Regions from separate parts of the Homo sapiens genome. Here all the other regions are linked to region 1. The links are contacts of gene promoters, found by promoter capture Hi-C in blood cells and fetal thymus (Javierre and others, 2016). All regions are on one chromosome and are shown on one strand. Each heading gives the region's core, a stretch centred on a gene start or on the middle of the fragment in contact. The rest is flanking DNA. Distances are from core to core; before and after follow the strand shown.

Region 1 (2,668 bases), core at 45-2,544:
CTCTTACATTATAATTTAATAGCTCATCCTGCCGCAAATAGAAAGCCTATAAAACCTATCCACAATAGCTATGTCCACAGGGATCTAGTAAAAAAAAAAAATCGTAGTTCTTAATTCAAGGAAGCTTATTTAATAAGTTTCATTACCACCAATACTTCAAAGACACCAATAACCAACACGTCATTTGTTCCTATTGCATAATTTAACAGGTTATTAACTTCTGGTATAATCCAAAAGCATAATTAGTAAACTATCATTAAAACATGATATTGCTTTTTTAAAAAATCAGAAATATTAACACCTTTCACTGCGTCAGTCAAATCAAAATTTCAAAATTTTTGTTCAACTGACTTTCCAAATCTAAATTCTTACTATTCTAAACGAGTATGGAGACAAAACACACACTCCATACTACATCTAAAAACTTCCTAGCCATCAGATTTTAATTTTAGCATAAACTGCCAAGAAAAACCTTTTGACCGAAACCTACATTCCGTACACATTACTGTATGTCAATCAACAGAAGGTGAGTTATGATCATTAGAAAGTTACATAATTTACTACAAAGATCGTTTAAAGCAAACTTCATTAAACGTAGGTTATAACAATTTACATGCTTCAAAGTTCAACGTGCAACCTTAAAGTATCAGAAACCATGAACAAAACTAGGCTTTTCTTTTAAAGTGGTCACAAGGAAGCAGGAACTGTTTGCGTGTTTAAGAACGCAATGAGCAGCAGAATACCAGCAGCTGAGTCAGGCAGAGGAACGCTGACTACATTCTGACTTCTAAAGGAAAGCGTTCCCTCGCCGATTTCCCAGACCCGGCCGGGAGAGTCCCGCGCGTCGCGACCTCGGAGAGAGGGCGCAGGGGGCAGACGACTCCCCGCCGCGCCCCCTGCACCTCGGGCTCGGCTGGCTGTGGCCCGCGCCAAGGTGCATGCCCAGCCAAGCAGAAGGAGCGGGCACCGCGCAGGCAGCGTTGCTCCGAGGGACAAAGGTTGGGCTCACACCCTCCACGGCCGCAGCTCGCGCGCCTGAGGAAGCCCGCCTGGCTGCCAGGGGTCTCCCGCTGGCCGGAGTTTGCGCAGCGTGTGGGGGAAGGGGAGCCCGGCCGCCCGCCCCTCCCCCGCCGCGCTCCCAGGGACCTGTTGATTAAGATCTCTACAGCCCAGCCGCCGCCGATCCGCCTCTTACCTCCACGCCTCGGCTCCGCGGAGCCTCCCGCCCCGGCCGCTCCTACGCACTGCAGAAGCGACAGCCCTCCGGCGGCCCTTGAAATTCCGGATAAAGAATCCAGAAACTCCCGACTCCCCACCTCAGAATCCTTAGTCCCCGCCCCCGCCCCACCGCCTGCCTCCTCCGTCGCCGCCGTCACCGCCGCAGCCGCCAGCAACTCCACTTCTAGACCGCGCGAGACCGGCCCCTGCGGCCGCCGCGAGACCGCGCACGCGCCCCCGGGACTCTGGCGCAGTGGGCGCGCGGATCCGAGTCCCACCCCGCCCGTGAGAGGCTGGCGCGGCTTGCCCAATCCCGAGCCGGAGCGGAGAGAGCGCCCGCTCATTGGTCCTCTCCGCAGCTCCAGCCGGGTGCGCGCAGTCGCGCGCCTCTAAGTCTAAAACGCGGACTGCTCCGGGCTAGCTGGCCCGGTAGAGCCCCTTCGGGATTTGGCCGGCGGGCTTTGTGGGGACGCGAGGCTTCCCTGGGTTTCTACATCCCTTGGCTCTTGTCTCTGGATGACGTATCCTGAAGAAAATCTGATTCCTCTTGAAGAGATTCCTCATGTCCTGTCAAGTTAGTCACCCAATCTAACATTTGTTTTTTTTAAAAAATGACATAAACACCTGGATGTGTGCAGTGTCCCGCAGAAGACTGCATAAAGCCAGCAGCTGCACTGATTTCTGAAAACCAGAAAGCAAGGATAGCAAGGACTAGAACTATTTCCCAGAAGTCTCCCGAAGGGACAGAGTTACGCAGATCAGCCCGTGCTCCGGGCATGGCTGGCGCCCTCGGGACCTGGATGTGCCACCCTTGGAATGGGGCAGGACTCAGGCGGGTGCGGGCGGAAGTCAGAGCAGATTGGAGGACGTTCTAAGGAGAAACACCAGCAATGTGTCTCGACACTTGCAATAAAAGCCCTCGGATGGTCTCTGTCTTGACAGTACCTTCCGAGCAAGCCCATTCCACATTTGAACACTTGCAAGGTTTGTTAATCGACCTCTCCTTCTATGAGGCCAAACTATGCCTGTGACTCCAGCCCGGGGGCACAGTTTCCCCCAGGGGCACAGTCCTCCCTCAAAGCCTTCGTATATGCCATTTCCATTTCTCTCGGTTTTCCTCATTTTGTCCCACGGTGTTTTTCCATCTCGCAATGTCCTCAGGTCCTGATTTTCAAGCTCTTTCACATTCTTCCCCATTACGCTCCTCTGGACAGCCTATGGGTTGTGGTGTCCCTCACTAAGGACACTGTGATGGCCTGAACGAAGCAAACCGTTGTTCCTGGTGGTGAAGATCTTTGGGGATGCCTACCCTTCCCAGATTTGTTATCCTTCTCAAATCTGATCAGCATTCTGTCCAAGTGTTTAATAAGACAGAGCGGAGGACAGAACTCTGCTGCATGCCACTAAAGACCTTAATGCTCCTGCCATCAAAAATTTCTCAGTAGGCTTC
Region 2 (2,668 bases), core at 91-2,590, 880 kb after region 1:
TCACTCATTACAAGGTTCTTCTTCCTCTGAGCTCTTCTAACCTACTGTTTATAAATGCATTTTAATTTGCCAAGCGCACTCCCCCACCCCTCCCAGGCAGACACACGCTTGCAGGGAGGTTAATTGCTACTGCCTTTATGAGCCCTGACCTGTGCAGACAGCATTCTCGGATCACTTCTCCCACCTCTGGGGCCGAGGTTAACGGTCACTGTGCAAGACTGCTTGGGACAGGGAGTGGTAGAATCTAATTACTGGCTCTTGTGGGGTGGACCCGTGAGTGCGTCTTTATGAACATGATGGGCTGAAGTAATCTCCAAGTCTGCGTGCTAATGACCTTCTGAAAGCTATTGTTATTTCCAAGGCCCTGAGGAAATTATATCTTAATTGTGAGTCTAAAATGCCCCCTATTAACTCTCTCTGTTGCCCTTACCTGATTCTTATTGCTCTGAAATCTGCTTGATCCAAATGCAACCAAATTACTTCCTCATTTTGTTCAAGAGATCCTAGATTATTTCTGTTTGAACCACCATCCCCTGTGTGGGTCCCTGTCCTCATTTGTTTCCAGCCTTAGTTGGTCCTCTCCCTAACTGGTAGATTTCCCCACGGGTACGAGTGCATAATTCTCTCTTTCTAAACAAGTTGCAACAGATTTTCTGTTTTCTGCTTTTTGAAGATATGGCTGGACATCTTAAAATACAGATTTTTGCATCTTTATTTTCTTGACTCTCTTAGTAGGTGAGTCATTAGAAGTAACAAAGAGAAAGCAGGATTAATGGTGAACATTATAAACATAGTTGGAAATAGTATTTGCGAGCTACTATTAATAGGATTTCCCCCCTCTGATTTGTTTGTGTGTTTCAGTTATGTATATTAACATTTATTTTGTCCCTGGGTTAATTCTTTATTCTCTGAAACTCCAGGAAAACAACATTGCTGTGTTGTTAACATGCCGGTGAATATTCTGCACATATACACATGCCCCTGCTGTGAATCTTTCTGGCAGACATTGTTTTCTCTGAGGGCAAGAGCTAAAATTTAAAAGCATCTCACCTGACAAATGATTAGGGAATAATTCTTCTTCAACCAAATGCCAAAACAAATCAGCTCCCTAAAGTGATGTGAGATCTCCTCAAGCTGTGCCTGGTAATATTAATAAACGAGTAGATGCCTCTGCCCACAGCTTGTCATTTCAGTGTCCCCCCCAACCCTACAGGCATCAAAGCCAAAAAAAAAAAAAAAAAAAGCTTAGGTTGCCTTTAGGAAGTTAAAGCCTGCCATCTTGTGGCGAGTTCATACAATTACACTAATATTTCATCAAGTTTAAGAATCGCATCTTGGAATTTACCAAAGGTATTTTTGGCATGCACTCACAAATGGCATCTGATGTATTTGGGCTGCGCTTATTCTCTGATAGGTACCAAAAGCTCTAAAGCTTGAAAATGACTACGAGTGCATCTTTGACATCTTGCCTTTGAGAAGCAAGTGAGAAGGTGGATGCTGGGGTGAGAGCTCTATTGTACTGTCAGGTTCTTCTAGGATTTGTAATGCTAAAAAGTGGGACCATCTGGGATACCAGTGACTGCAGCTGCCTCCAGTTCTAGGCAAATGGGTAATTTCTTTAAGTGCCCTTCTGATGAGCAGAAAAACTTCAGGCTTGTTAGCTCAAGAGTCATTTGCAGATACACCTGGAGAGATCATAGCAGGTGGTGCAGTAGAGCACCCAACTCAAGAGGCTGATCCATCCATTGGGTGCTCAGCAAATGAAAACTAATGATGCCTGTTAGTGGTTGGGGAATTTTCCTTTAACCTGGACAAATGGGAATTAAAAAAAAAAAAAGGCGCATCTTCAAGCATAATCCTCTGGCTTATGCATTTTGAGGTTAGAGAACAACACCTGGAAGATTTGCTTTTAAAAAACTATTTGTCAGATTTTAATGATTTTTTTCCACATTCTGCTCCTGCTTTCTACAGGTTCTCACAGTTGGAAAATGACAGGAGAAGGTGTTTGCTATGATATATGCAATCTATCTGGTGGTCAGAACATGGGAAAAAGAGGGGGAAGTTGGGCTTATCCAGATTTAAGCTCACTTAAAAAGCAAGAACAAGTTTGAGGGAGCTGAGTAATTTACATACTTTCAGACACAGCTGCACAATTCTTTTCAGTTTTCCCATCTGTGAGCTAGAAACGAAGGGAATGATCAAATTTGCCAATTGATTGCCTTCATGGATGTTAATGCAGTGAGGCAATCTCTAAGGTTGTTAGTGTAGCAGGGTATGTATCCTCTATTAAAAGGGGTGCACAAACTTTTAATTAAATTTGATTAAATTCGAGGGGTTTTTCTTCTTGTTTTTTCAGTACCATTTGATTCAATCAGGTTGAGAATAGAGAATCACTTTGAAGTAAATGTTCCTTGTTCTTCAAAGAAGGCTTCAGTAGGCTTCCTTGGTTATGTAAATGTCAGATAAGTAAGCCTCCTGGTCCCAGGAGAAAGCTGGAACAAGACATCCTGTGCTTTGAGTGGTTTAGAAAAGGTTGCCTCTTGGCCGGGGGCGGTGGCTCATGCCTGTAATCCCAGCACTTTGGGAGGCCGAGGCAGGTGGATCACGAGGTCAGGAGATCAAGACCATCCTGGCTAACACGGTGAAACCCGGTCTCCACTAAAAACAC
Region 3 (2,668 bases), core at 107-2,606, 840 kb after region 1:
GCACGTTGAGGAGGAGCAGACACAGCTAAGCAGGGCTCCAACACATTTCCAAAGGGGCATGCCTCCAGTGCCATGCTGCTAAGCTAGGGCTGCTAGTGGGAAGCCCCATTGACTTTGGATGCAAACCACAAAGCAGTCTCCTCTGCCACCACTGACTACTCCCTGCCTGCAGCCCCTGTATGTGCTGAGATGGCTTCAGAGATAAATTTAAAACTTAAAAAAATGCATTCTTTCTACTTTTGCTTGAATATGGGCTTCATCAGCCATCAAGGCTAATTGTAAGCTGCAGGATGCAAAAAGAATTAAAGTTAGCCAAACAACATTTGATTAACAAGACCTGGTGAAAGCAAAGCTAGGGAGAGTATGGAGTTTGTTTTTGGTTACCCCGGTCTCTTTGACCCTCTCATATTTCTCCAAGGTCCTCCACTTTGCCCTGCCCTTCTTGATTTCTATTCCTGTAAGATCTTTTTCATTTACCTTCAGCTAAAATCTGCTGAGGTATGAGATGAAAGAGATCTAAGGGCATGTTCGCCCATGGGCCTTTCAATTTTGATAAAAGACATTGGAAGAGTTAAAATCCCCTGATGCTCGGGAAAAATATGAAGCTCTGATGATGAAATTTTGGGTGTCATGGGGGCTGGAGTGAGAATCACAAATCAGGACCTTCCCTGGAATTCTTTATATTGAACCTCATAGGTGTCCAGCTAAGGTGAAAGCTTACCTTGTGTATTAGCAATACCAACAGAGGCTAATGCCTTATGAACCATCACTTATGTCTGCAGTACTTCTCACAAAAACTTTGTGTCCACTAGATGGCATTCAGATAGAGCTGGTGGATGAAGTCTTGGTTCTGTAACCTACCGAGGTTAAAAAAAAATCGTCCAGGGAGTACTTCCTTCCTGCCAGGGTTTTAGCTTTGTTCCTAATATCTCCGCCTCAGGATGTGTACTATACGTTTGTGCCTGCTACTGAGTGCAGAAATACGTGTCATCTTACTTGCATATGGCACTTTATAGTTTTCAATGTACCTCACATGTATTACTCCTTTTTGAGCTCACTTCTCAGATTTGTAGAAATTATCATTTCCATTTTACCTCTGAGGAAACAGAGGTTCAAATACATCAGCTAGGAAGTAGCAGAACTAGAACTTGAATCTAAACCTTTTGGTTCTCATTCTAAATAGACCATATTTCATCCCAAAACGGGAAATCAGGGGTGTATCATAGAAGAGACAGAGAGGTGCTGGCTGACTGAGAGGGCAGGAAAACCCTTAGAGGACTACCTGGAATTGGAAAGTGAGTCTGGTCAGCATATGAAAATATAGAAAAGGGGAACATTCTGGGAGCACCCTTCCCTCTGGTGATACCAGTGGATGCTATGATTTCCGTGCCTTAGGTCCAGAGCAGTGGGGCAGACAACAACATAGTATAGCCTGTGACTTTCAGGAAGTCAGGAGATTAGGAAACCGCAGGTTGGGCTGCAGAGAAGAAACATGGTGCTTTACATGGAGCAGAGGATTTGCCAGCTACCTCTGAGATTCCACTCGTGCAGTCAAGACAAGTCCTGAGATGAGACTGCTTCAAAATCACATTTCAGCTGGGAATGCAAAAATGACTGTGGGTACATAGAAGGGCTTGTGCTGACCGACATCTCCCAGGAATTATCTGCATGTTGTCTACTTATTTAATGCATTATATAAATGTTATAGAGTGTTGTATTTCATTAATACTGTCTTGTTGTAGAATACTTGTCCTGTATTCCAGATGTTCCCAGGGATAGTGGGAGAAGGGTTTATATGAACCAGCAATATTCCATGCATTTAGTTACTCCTGGGAAATTAATATAGCAATAGCAGTGACTAAGGAATTAAGAGAAGGAAGGTGGTAGATTAGCAGACACAAAGGTACTAAGATGGAAATGAGTTTATCTGCAGGGAAGAATACAAACCCCTGCCTTGTCAAAGTGGAGAATCTGGGAACAATTGAAAGTAAGCTTGGACAGGTAATTTGAGACTGCATTATTGGGCCTGGTGTGCCACACTGCAGAGGACTGCCTTGATGATGGCATTTGGACATCATTAAAGGTTTTTAGTGTGATGCTAGGAGGGTTATTCCAGCAATACACAAGATGGCTAGGAGTGGGAAGAGCCTGGGGACAGGGAGAAAAGACCTACAGATACTGGATTAATTTTCATATGAGGTAATAAAGGGCTGACTTCGTGTGGAAATGGAAATGAAGGACAGATATGAAAGATACTAAGATGAGTCAATGAGAAAGTCAGTTGTTTATTGAACATGTTGTCCCCACTGGGTTTTCCTGTTATTCTTTTAACCTCACATTCTTGCTGCTTGTTTTCTCAATGTGGTCCCCTGTTGTCTTAATAGAGCAGTGGAGCTCTGCTCATTAAAATTATGCAGCACAAGTATCACTCATTTTAAGTAACTGATTTTATAGCACTTCAAACCTGCCAAGTTGATAAATTAGGCACTGTACTATTTTACACAATCTGGAGTCTCAGATTTAGGGAATTTTGAAAATTGGCAAATCCTGTGGCAAATGGCAGCACCTGCTGGCAAATATGATATTACAGGCTAACTCAAGTAGACAGTGCAATGGCCCAGAAGAAGATGAACAAAGAGAACAAAGCTGGCAGGAGCTGGAAGGCTTG
Region 4 (2,668 bases), core at 47-2,546, 760 kb after region 1:
CAGTGTGTCAGAGAGTGAATGACAGAAGTAACACTTTTAAAATAAAATGAGAAAACCCAAAAGAACAAATATTCTTGACACCTATGATTAGGCATTATAGGGGACATAGAAAAGTACTAAATAGATAAAATATAAAATTTGTAAAGGGCTGGGTTATATAATACATCTCAAATTAGATAATCTAGTCATATTCCACAGCCAAAATAAAAAGTAGTCTCCATAGTCTAAACTGAGCAAAAATTATCTAGTTCTGCGTTAGCTACTCATATAGGCTCATCTGCCACCTCTACTGAAATGATTGAACAACCTAAAGTATGCCACTGGTATAATTTTCTCAATTTAACAATAACCATCTACAATATTAGGCACTACAAAATAAAAATAACCAAATTATGTACCCTTGCCCCATATGCTGCTTCAATAATGACATTTGTCATATTAGGCCTTTTTTCTGTATAGTAGCATTTTTCCATCTTTTATTTGCATTTGTATTTGCAAATAAAAAATGATATATAAATAAATGATAATTAGGAAAATATAAAGAAGCAGAGTCTGAACAGGTTCTGTATATTTTTTAAAGGCTGTGTAAGCCCTAGGTGACAACTCTGAGAATCTTCTGGCTTTATAAGCTGGTCATTTTCCATGTAAAAAAAATTTTTATTCTGAGACTTGTTTAATATACCAGATCTGACTCCCTTTCCAATTTCAGTTTGGATGCACTGTGGCAAACGTTCTGAATGTTATAAAATGAGATATCAAATGAAATACTATTTATGAACCACAAAATCATTTTAAATAAATGAAGTTTTATTACTTGAGTACATGTATTAGAAACTGGTCTATAACCCAAGCAGCGTTTACTAAAAATTAAATGAAGGCCATTACATATAGTAATATATCATGATAATAAATCCCTGAATTAGGATATTAACTCTAAATCTTTAAATTAAATCAGGACTAGTTACTCCTTTGTCCAAATGGTCAAAAAGCTTGATCTAAGGTGTTCACATTAATTAAAAATTTTTGTAAGTTAAATTATGATATAGATTGACATTTTAAAATATAACTCTCCCAATTTCATAAAGAAGTTTAAAAAGGTTAAACGTCTTAATGACTATGCTGGGACTTCCTTTATAAATCCACTCTTGGGCATGTGATTATGACATGCCCAAGAGAGAGATAGATACATTCTTTTGTCTTGCCCATTGAATAGACTCAATAATTAACAAATTGGATTGGAGTAGGTAGTTGCAAGTATCAGCATTTTTCAGCTTGAAACTTTTCTTACATGTAGCCAACACTATTATTTGCCTACATCAATGTTACTTCCTCTTTTGTCCATATGTTCAGTCCCAGGGTTAAAATCACAATTGATCTGAACCAACTGTGGCAATTCACATCCTCTTTGCCAGTGACAGGTCTGAGAATGGACATGGGATTCAGTCCTGGCTAGTGAAACATGAGGTGAAGCCTTCTGGGGTTTCTGGGCAAATTTTTTCTTTCTCTTTAATAAAAGGAGGAAAACAATGACAAGTAAAAAGTATATTTTCTTTACAATGTCTTTTCTACTTTGGATATGGTCCTAAAAGGACAGGAAGCTTGGAGCTACTCTGGCTGTTTTGTAACAATAAGGTAGAAGGCCAAGAGAATTATGGAGAAACTGACCCAATACCCTGAGATGGTGGAACTGCTGAAACAAACTTTGAACCGCTACGTCCAGACTTCTTTTACATGGAAAAAAATATATATTCCTTTATTGTTTAAGCCACTGATAGCTAGATTGTTTGTTACTTCAGCTGAATATATTTTTCCTTGAATACCATATAAATGCAGGGCCAGTATTGTGCCAGAGCCAGCTTACACTGGCTTGTGAGATGATTGTGCCTATCTGTTTCCAATTCCACATTCAGTGACTTTAAATCATCTGGGGTGAATAGTCACACTCTGGAACCAGGCCAAAGATACATATCCGAGCTGTTTTCACCAGAGAGCTGGTTGTTGAAAACATTTATCAGCATCACACCACTAGGTGACTTACATTAACTCCTACAGATAATGTCATAGCAACTACTATGCTACCTATCATCTTTTAAAGTGCATTTTTAATAGTAAATGGGTAATAAGTTATATCAAGACATTTTTAATTTGTGGAATTTTAGAACCAGAGGACAGTTTAGTAAATTTAAAAACCGAAATCAAATACTGGGTGATTTTAAAACTAATCTAACATTATATAACTAGTTAATAGCAGAGTTGAGTCTCGAATTTGACTCTTTATTCCCATTTTGGTGATTTTTCCAGTATACCATATAGCCATTATATTATTTATACAATAATAATAATAATTCTTTGAGTGCCAACATCTATCTTCAAATCAAAATAGTAAGTTAGCAAGATACTCAATTTCCGTATAAATAGACTGGCCTAGTTTTGATGATGCATATAATGTAACATTTAATTATATATTGTAAGTTTTGGTCTATTTAGCAAAGATACAGACGTTGAAGAAGGCTGACATATGGAAACTTAGCATGACAACCATGCTTAGCCAACAACCTTCAATTATCATGACTCACACTACTTCCAATAAGTAACCGGATGATCAGAATTGAGCTTGGATTCCCCAACTACACCAGAGATACTCGTACAGAGGGGAAACTGCTACCCA
Region 5 (2,668 bases), core at 84-2,583, 620 kb after region 1:
TCCTCATTATAGTGAATGAGTCTCATGAAATCTGATTGTTTTAAAAATGGGAGTTTCCCTGCACAAGTTCTCTCTTTGTCCACTGCCATATAAGAGGTGACTTTGTCCACTGCCATACAAGCTCCTCTTTGCCTTCTGCCATGATTGTGAGGCCTCCCCAGTCATGAAGAACTGTAAGTCCATTAAACCTCTTTCTTTTATAAATTGCCCAGTCTCAGGTATGTCTTTATCAGCAGCATGAAAATGGATTAATACAGTAAATTGGTACCAGTAGAATGGGGTGCTGCTGAAAACATACATGAAAATGTGGAAGCGAGTTTGGAACTGGATAACAGGCAGAGATTGGGACAGTTTGGAGGGCTCAGAAGAAGACAGGAAAATCTGGGAAAGTTTGGAACTTCCTAGAGATTTGTTGAATGGCTTTGACAAAAATGCTGATAGTGATATGAACAAAAAGGTACAGGCTGAGGTGGTCTCACAAGGAGATGAGGAACTTGTTGGAAACTGGAGCAAAGGTGACTCTTGCTATGTTTTGGCAAAGAGACTGGCAGCTTTTTGCCCCTGCCCCAGAGATCTGTGGAACTTTGAACTTGAGAGAGATGATTTAGGGTATCTGATGGAAGAAATTTCTAAGCAGTAAAGCATTCAAGACATGACTTGGGTGCTGTTAAAGGCATTCAGTTTTAAAAGGGAAACAGAGCATAAAAGTTTGGAAAACTTGTAGCCTGACAATGCGAAAGAAAAGAAAATCCCATTTTCTGAGGAGAAATTCAAGCCGGATGCAGAAATTTGCAAAAGTAATGAGGAGCTGAATGTTAATCCCCTAGACAATGGGGAAAATGTCTCCAGGACATGTCACAGGTCTTCATGGCAGCCCCTCCCATCACAGGCTCAAAGGCCTAGGAGGAAAACATGGTTTTGTGGGCCGGGCCAAGGGTCCCCATGGTGTGTGCAGTCCAGAAAGGTGGTGCCCTGCATCCCAGCTGCTCCAGCCATGACTGAAAGGGGCCAGTATAAGCTCAGGCCATGCGTTCAGAGGGTTCAAGCCCCAGGCCTTGGCAGCTTTCATGTGGTGTTGAGCCTGCAAGTGCATAGAAGTCAAGAACTGAGGTTTGGGAGCCTCCACCTGGATTTCACAGGATGTACGTAAATACCTGGATGTCCAGGCAGAAGTTTGCTGCAGGGGTGGGGCGCTCATGAAGAACCTCTGCTAGGGCAGTGCAGAAAAGAAATGTGGGGTTGAATCACCCACATGGAGTTCCTACTGGGGCTCCAACCTAGTGGAACTGTGAGAAAGGGCCACCATCCTCCAGACCCCATAATGGCAGATCCACCGACAGCACTGTGTGCCTGGAAAAGCCACAGACAGTCACTACTAGCCAATGAAAGCAGCTGGGATGGAGGCTGTATCCTGCAGAGACACAGGGGTGGAGCTGCCCAGACCATGAGAACCCACCTCTTGCATCAGCATGACCCGGACATGAGATATGGAGTCAAAGGAGATCATTTTGGAGCTTTAAGATTTCACAGCCGGCTGGGTGCGGTGGCTCACGCCTGTAATCCCAGCATTTTGGGAGGCCGAGGCGGTGGATCACAAGGTCAGGAGATCGAGACCATCCTGGCTAACATGGTGAAACCCCGTCTCTACTAAAATACAAAAAATTAGCTGGGCATGGTGGCGGGTGCCTGTAGTCCCAGCTACTCAGGAGACTGAGGCAGGAGAATGGTGTGAACCCAGGGGGTGGAGCTGGCAGTGAGCTGAGATCGTGCCATTGCACTCTAGCCTGGGCGACAGAGGGAGACTCTGTCTCAAAAAAAAAAAAAAGATTTGACAGCCCTGGCCAGGCACTGTGGCTCACATCTGTAATCCCAGCACTTTGGGAGGCCGAGGCAGGTGGATCACGAGGTCAGGAGATAGAGACCATCCTGGCTAACATGGTGAAATCCCATCTCTACTACAAATACGAAAAAAAAAAATTGGCTGGGTGCAGTGGCTCATGCCTGTAATCCCAGCACTTTGGGAGGCCGAGGCAGGCGGATCATGAGGTCAGGAAATCGAGACCACCCTGGCTAACACAGTGAAACCCCATCTCTACTAAAAATACAAAAAAAAAAAAAAAAATTGGCTGGGCTTGGTGGTGGATGCTTGTAGTCCCAGCTGCTCAGGAGGCTGAGGCAGGAGAATGGCGTGAACCCGGGAGGCAGAGCTTGCAGTGAGCCAAGATCACGCCAGTGCACTCCAGCCTGGGCGACAGAGTTAGACTCTCTCTCTCAAAAAAAAAGATTTGATAGCCCTGCTGGATTTGGGACTGGCATGGGGCCTGTAGCCCCTTTGTTTTGGCCAATTTCTCCCATTTGGAATGGTTGTATTTACCCAATGCCTGTACCTCCATTGTATCTAGGAAGTAACTAAGTTGCTTCTGATTTTACAGGCTTATAGGCAGAAGGGACTTGCCTTGTCTCAGGTGAGACTTTGGACTGTGGACTTTTGAGTTAAAGCTGAAATGAGTTAAAACTTTGGGGGACTGTTGGGAAGGCATGACTGGTTTTGAAATGTGAGGATATGAGATTTGAGAGCGGTCAGAGATAGACTGATATGGTTTGGCTGTGTCCCCTCTGCCAAATCTCATCTTGAATTGTAACTCCTACAATTCCCACGTGTCATGGG
Region 6 (2,668 bases), core at 70-2,569, 600 kb after region 1:
AAAAATGTGCTCTACCTCTCTCTTTTTTTTTTTTTGTCATCTACTTGTTCTATCAGCTATTGATGGTTGGTACTACTGACAGCATCATAAATTCTCCCAGTATATTTGGGGATTTGTCCAGTTCTTTTGCTTCTATCAATTTTTGCTTTATATATACTATCTCACTATGTGCATGCAGATTTAGGATAGTGAAAACTTCCTGATACAATTACCCTTTTATTATTATAAAACATCCATCTTTTATACAAATTCTCCTAACTTTATAATGAGGCTATATCCTGAGAAACCCACTGTAAGTGAAAAATATTGTTAAGTCAAAAATACATTTCATATACTATAGAGTGTTGGTTATTTACCCTCATGACTGCTTGGCTGAGTGGAAACTGCAGCTTGCTGCTACTGCCCAACACTGCAATAGAGTATTCTATTACATATCACTAGCCTAGAGAAAGATCAAAATTCAAAGCATAGCTTCTACTGAATGTGTATCATTTTTGCACCACCGTTACGTCAAACAATTGTAAGTTGAACCATCATACGTTATGGACCACCTATATTTAGTCTTTATCTTATAGTCTACCTTATTGGATATAGTAGCTACACCAGTTTGCCTTTCAGTGTTAGGACAGTGTATCTATTCATCCTTTTAGCTTCATCCTCCCATTTAATTTAAGATGTGGCTCTTGAATGCAGCATATAATTGGGGTTTACTTGTTTTATACAGCCTGACAAGCTTAGTGATTCAATTTTAATAATTAGTCAATTTATATTGAATGTGATTACCAATATAATTAGGACAAAACAGAGGAAGAATAAGCTTTACTACAGATACAACTGAGACTTGAAATACATCCCCAAGGTCAACTCTGATACAGAATGGTTACATGTATATTTTATCTTGATTTTCTCATTGCTCTAAGCAGAAGTACTAATTTGCTACCAGCTACTCCATTCTACTTGGAAGGAAAGCCTCAACACATAGGTTTTCCTAAAATCAAATATTTACTTGAAAGCCTGTATTAAATCCAAGGTGATGTTCAAGGTCAAACTTAGTCTCTGAATAATATTTGCCTCAAACAAAAGTACTAGTAGCACTTTGGACATTTCATAGTATAACAATAAGAGAGTGGTATAGTTAAAAAACCCCAAAGGATAAAAAAACTGTTAAGTAATTAATATCATTTCATGTTCATTTTTAATGTGACCTAGGAAATAAACTATTGTAAATGTCTTCCAAAACCATTTCATTTTTTTGTTGTTGTTTTGTTGAGGCAGAGTCTCATTCTGCTGCCTGGGCTGGAGTGCAATGGTGCAGTCTTGGCTCACTGCAACCTTTGCCTCCAAGGTTCAAGTGATGCTCCTGCCTCAGCCTCCTGAACAGCTGGGATTACAGGCACGTGCCACCACGCCCAGCCAATTTTTTGTATTTTTAGTAGGAATGGAGTTTCACCATGTTGGCCAGGCTGGTCTTGAACTCACGACCTCAAGTGATCCGCGTGTCTCAGCCTCCCAAAGTGCTGGGATTACAGGCATGAGCCACCATGCTCAGCCCAAAACCATTTCTTAGGCCACAAAAAATTATCTCACACACAAATCAATTCAGGAATGAACAAAAGAATATGATCCATTGCACCTAGGTGTTTCAGCTTCTTTATTATAAATGCCTTTACTCCAGTCTATGTCATCTGTGATCCTTCATTAAATCCCTACATTTAATATCTTCTCTAACCTAATCTCCAATGAATACCCAGTTACTTTCTAAACAGAAATACGATAAGCACTACTTACATTTACATATAAAATCTCCCAATGGCAAGCTTTAATTTCAGACAAAATTTCATATGTATATATCTGTTAAAATTTGTAGATGTATAAACTTATAAATCAATTTAGATATATAAATTTTATAAAATATCATCTATAGTTTATATGTTACATATATACACATATATATGTGTATGTGGGGGTACACACATACATATTTCTAGCTATTCTCTTGCCTCTGCCTTTTATTTGCCAAACTTTAAAATAAGCTTCAAGGTCTAGCTTAACTTTTCAAATGCCAAAAAAAAAAATAATCATCACCATTCACCAGCTGGGTCAGATGGACTATGTAATTTTATTTTTATGTTCAAGTCATTTTATATTGCAGAAGTAAAAATAAAGGAGCAGTGAAATTTCATCAGAAAGTTTTGGTTTTGAATGTATATGTATTCAATGTCTTCTAAATGCAACTAACGCTTCATCAATTGTCATGTATGAACCAGAGACACATCCATCTTGTACATATTGATTCCAGATGTCAAATACATCTCTAATTGGATCTAACTTATCATTATTCTTGTTCTTCTTGAACTGACATCATCAAAATACAGCACACCTGATGAATTTTTTTTAAACCTTTAGCTTATAGTTTTGATGAAGAGAAAATGGCCATCTTCTTTGTTCGATAATTGCAAAAGTTTCATTTTTACACTTATAACACCACTTATAATTACCAATTAATAATTTTTTCATTTCTACATTATCTGTTTCCTTCTAGTCACCTATGCATATATATATATATATTTACCTTCAGTATTTGTCCACTTAGGAACCATATATAATGAATCTGAGCACGAAATCATAAAAGATTAAAGAATATGTTACCTATCCTTTTAGCAAAATG

Evidence for each region. Contacts are between HindIII fragments. The CHiCAGO score rates a contact against its expected background, and 5 or more counts as called.
Region 2: a fragment that was not itself captured here is called in contact with the fragment with the promoter of PALS1 in region 1 in 15 of 17 cell types (fetal thymus, megakaryocytes, naive CD8 T cells and 12 more); the score reaches 11.4 in fetal thymus.
Region 3: a fragment that was not itself captured here is called in contact with the fragment with the promoter of PALS1 in region 1 in 1 of 17 cell types (erythroblasts); the score reaches 8.9 in erythroblasts.
Region 4: a fragment that was not itself captured here is called in contact with the fragment with the promoter of PALS1 in region 1 in 4 of 17 cell types (erythroblasts, total B cells, M0 macrophages and 1 more); the score reaches 8.5 in erythroblasts.
Region 5: a contact is called between a fragment that was not itself captured here and the fragment with the promoter of PALS1 in region 1, in 1 of 17 cell types (M2 macrophages). The highest score is 5.4, in M2 macrophages.
Region 6: a contact is called between a fragment that was not itself captured here and the fragment with the promoter of PALS1 in region 1, in 1 of 17 cell types (endothelial precursors). The highest score is 6.7, in endothelial precursors.

The regions. Positions count from the first base shown.
Region 1 is chr14:67,240,061-67,242,728 of GRCh38, reverse strand. PALS1 (protein associated with LIN7 1, MAGUK p55 family member) reads right to left here and starts at 1,294. Exons shown (of 15, transcript NM_022474.4): 1 at 1,196-1,294. It overlaps LOC124903330 (a long non-coding RNA gene), which reads left to right and starts at 1,320. Exons shown (of 2, transcript XR_007064217.1): 1 at 1,320-2,668. It also overlaps a transcript of GPHN not described here. RefSeq lists a silencer at 713-1,682 and an enhancer at 1,663-1,942. The HindIII fragment of the contact is 3,073 bases long and covers 127-2,668 here.
Region 2 is chr14:66,358,230-66,360,897 of GRCh38, reverse strand. No RefSeq gene overlaps it. Among named protein-coding and RNA genes, the nearest start is that of CCDC196, 130 kb to the left of the region's middle. The HindIII fragment of the contact is 188 bases long and covers 1,247-1,434 here.
Region 3 is chr14:66,401,543-66,404,210 of GRCh38, reverse strand. No RefSeq gene overlaps it. Among named protein-coding and RNA genes, the nearest start is that of CCDC196, 83 kb to the left of the region's middle. The HindIII fragment of the contact is 1,276 bases long and covers 719-1,994 here.
Region 4 is chr14:66,476,456-66,479,123 of GRCh38, reverse strand. No RefSeq gene overlaps it. Among named protein-coding and RNA genes, the nearest start is that of CCDC196, 8.6 kb to the left of the region's middle. The HindIII fragment of the contact is 609 bases long and covers 992-1,600 here.
Region 5 is chr14:66,620,586-66,623,253 of GRCh38, reverse strand. All of the region lies in intron 1 of GPHN (gephyrin), which reads right to left. Among named protein-coding and RNA genes, the nearest start is that of GPHN, 110 kb to the right of the region's middle. The HindIII fragment of the contact is 7,774 bases long and covers 1-2,668 here.
Region 6 is chr14:66,639,022-66,641,689 of GRCh38, reverse strand. The region is part of intron 1 of GPHN (gephyrin); the gene reads right to left. Among named protein-coding and RNA genes, the nearest start is that of GPHN, 130 kb to the right of the region's middle. The HindIII fragment of the contact is 1,000 bases long and covers 820-1,819 here.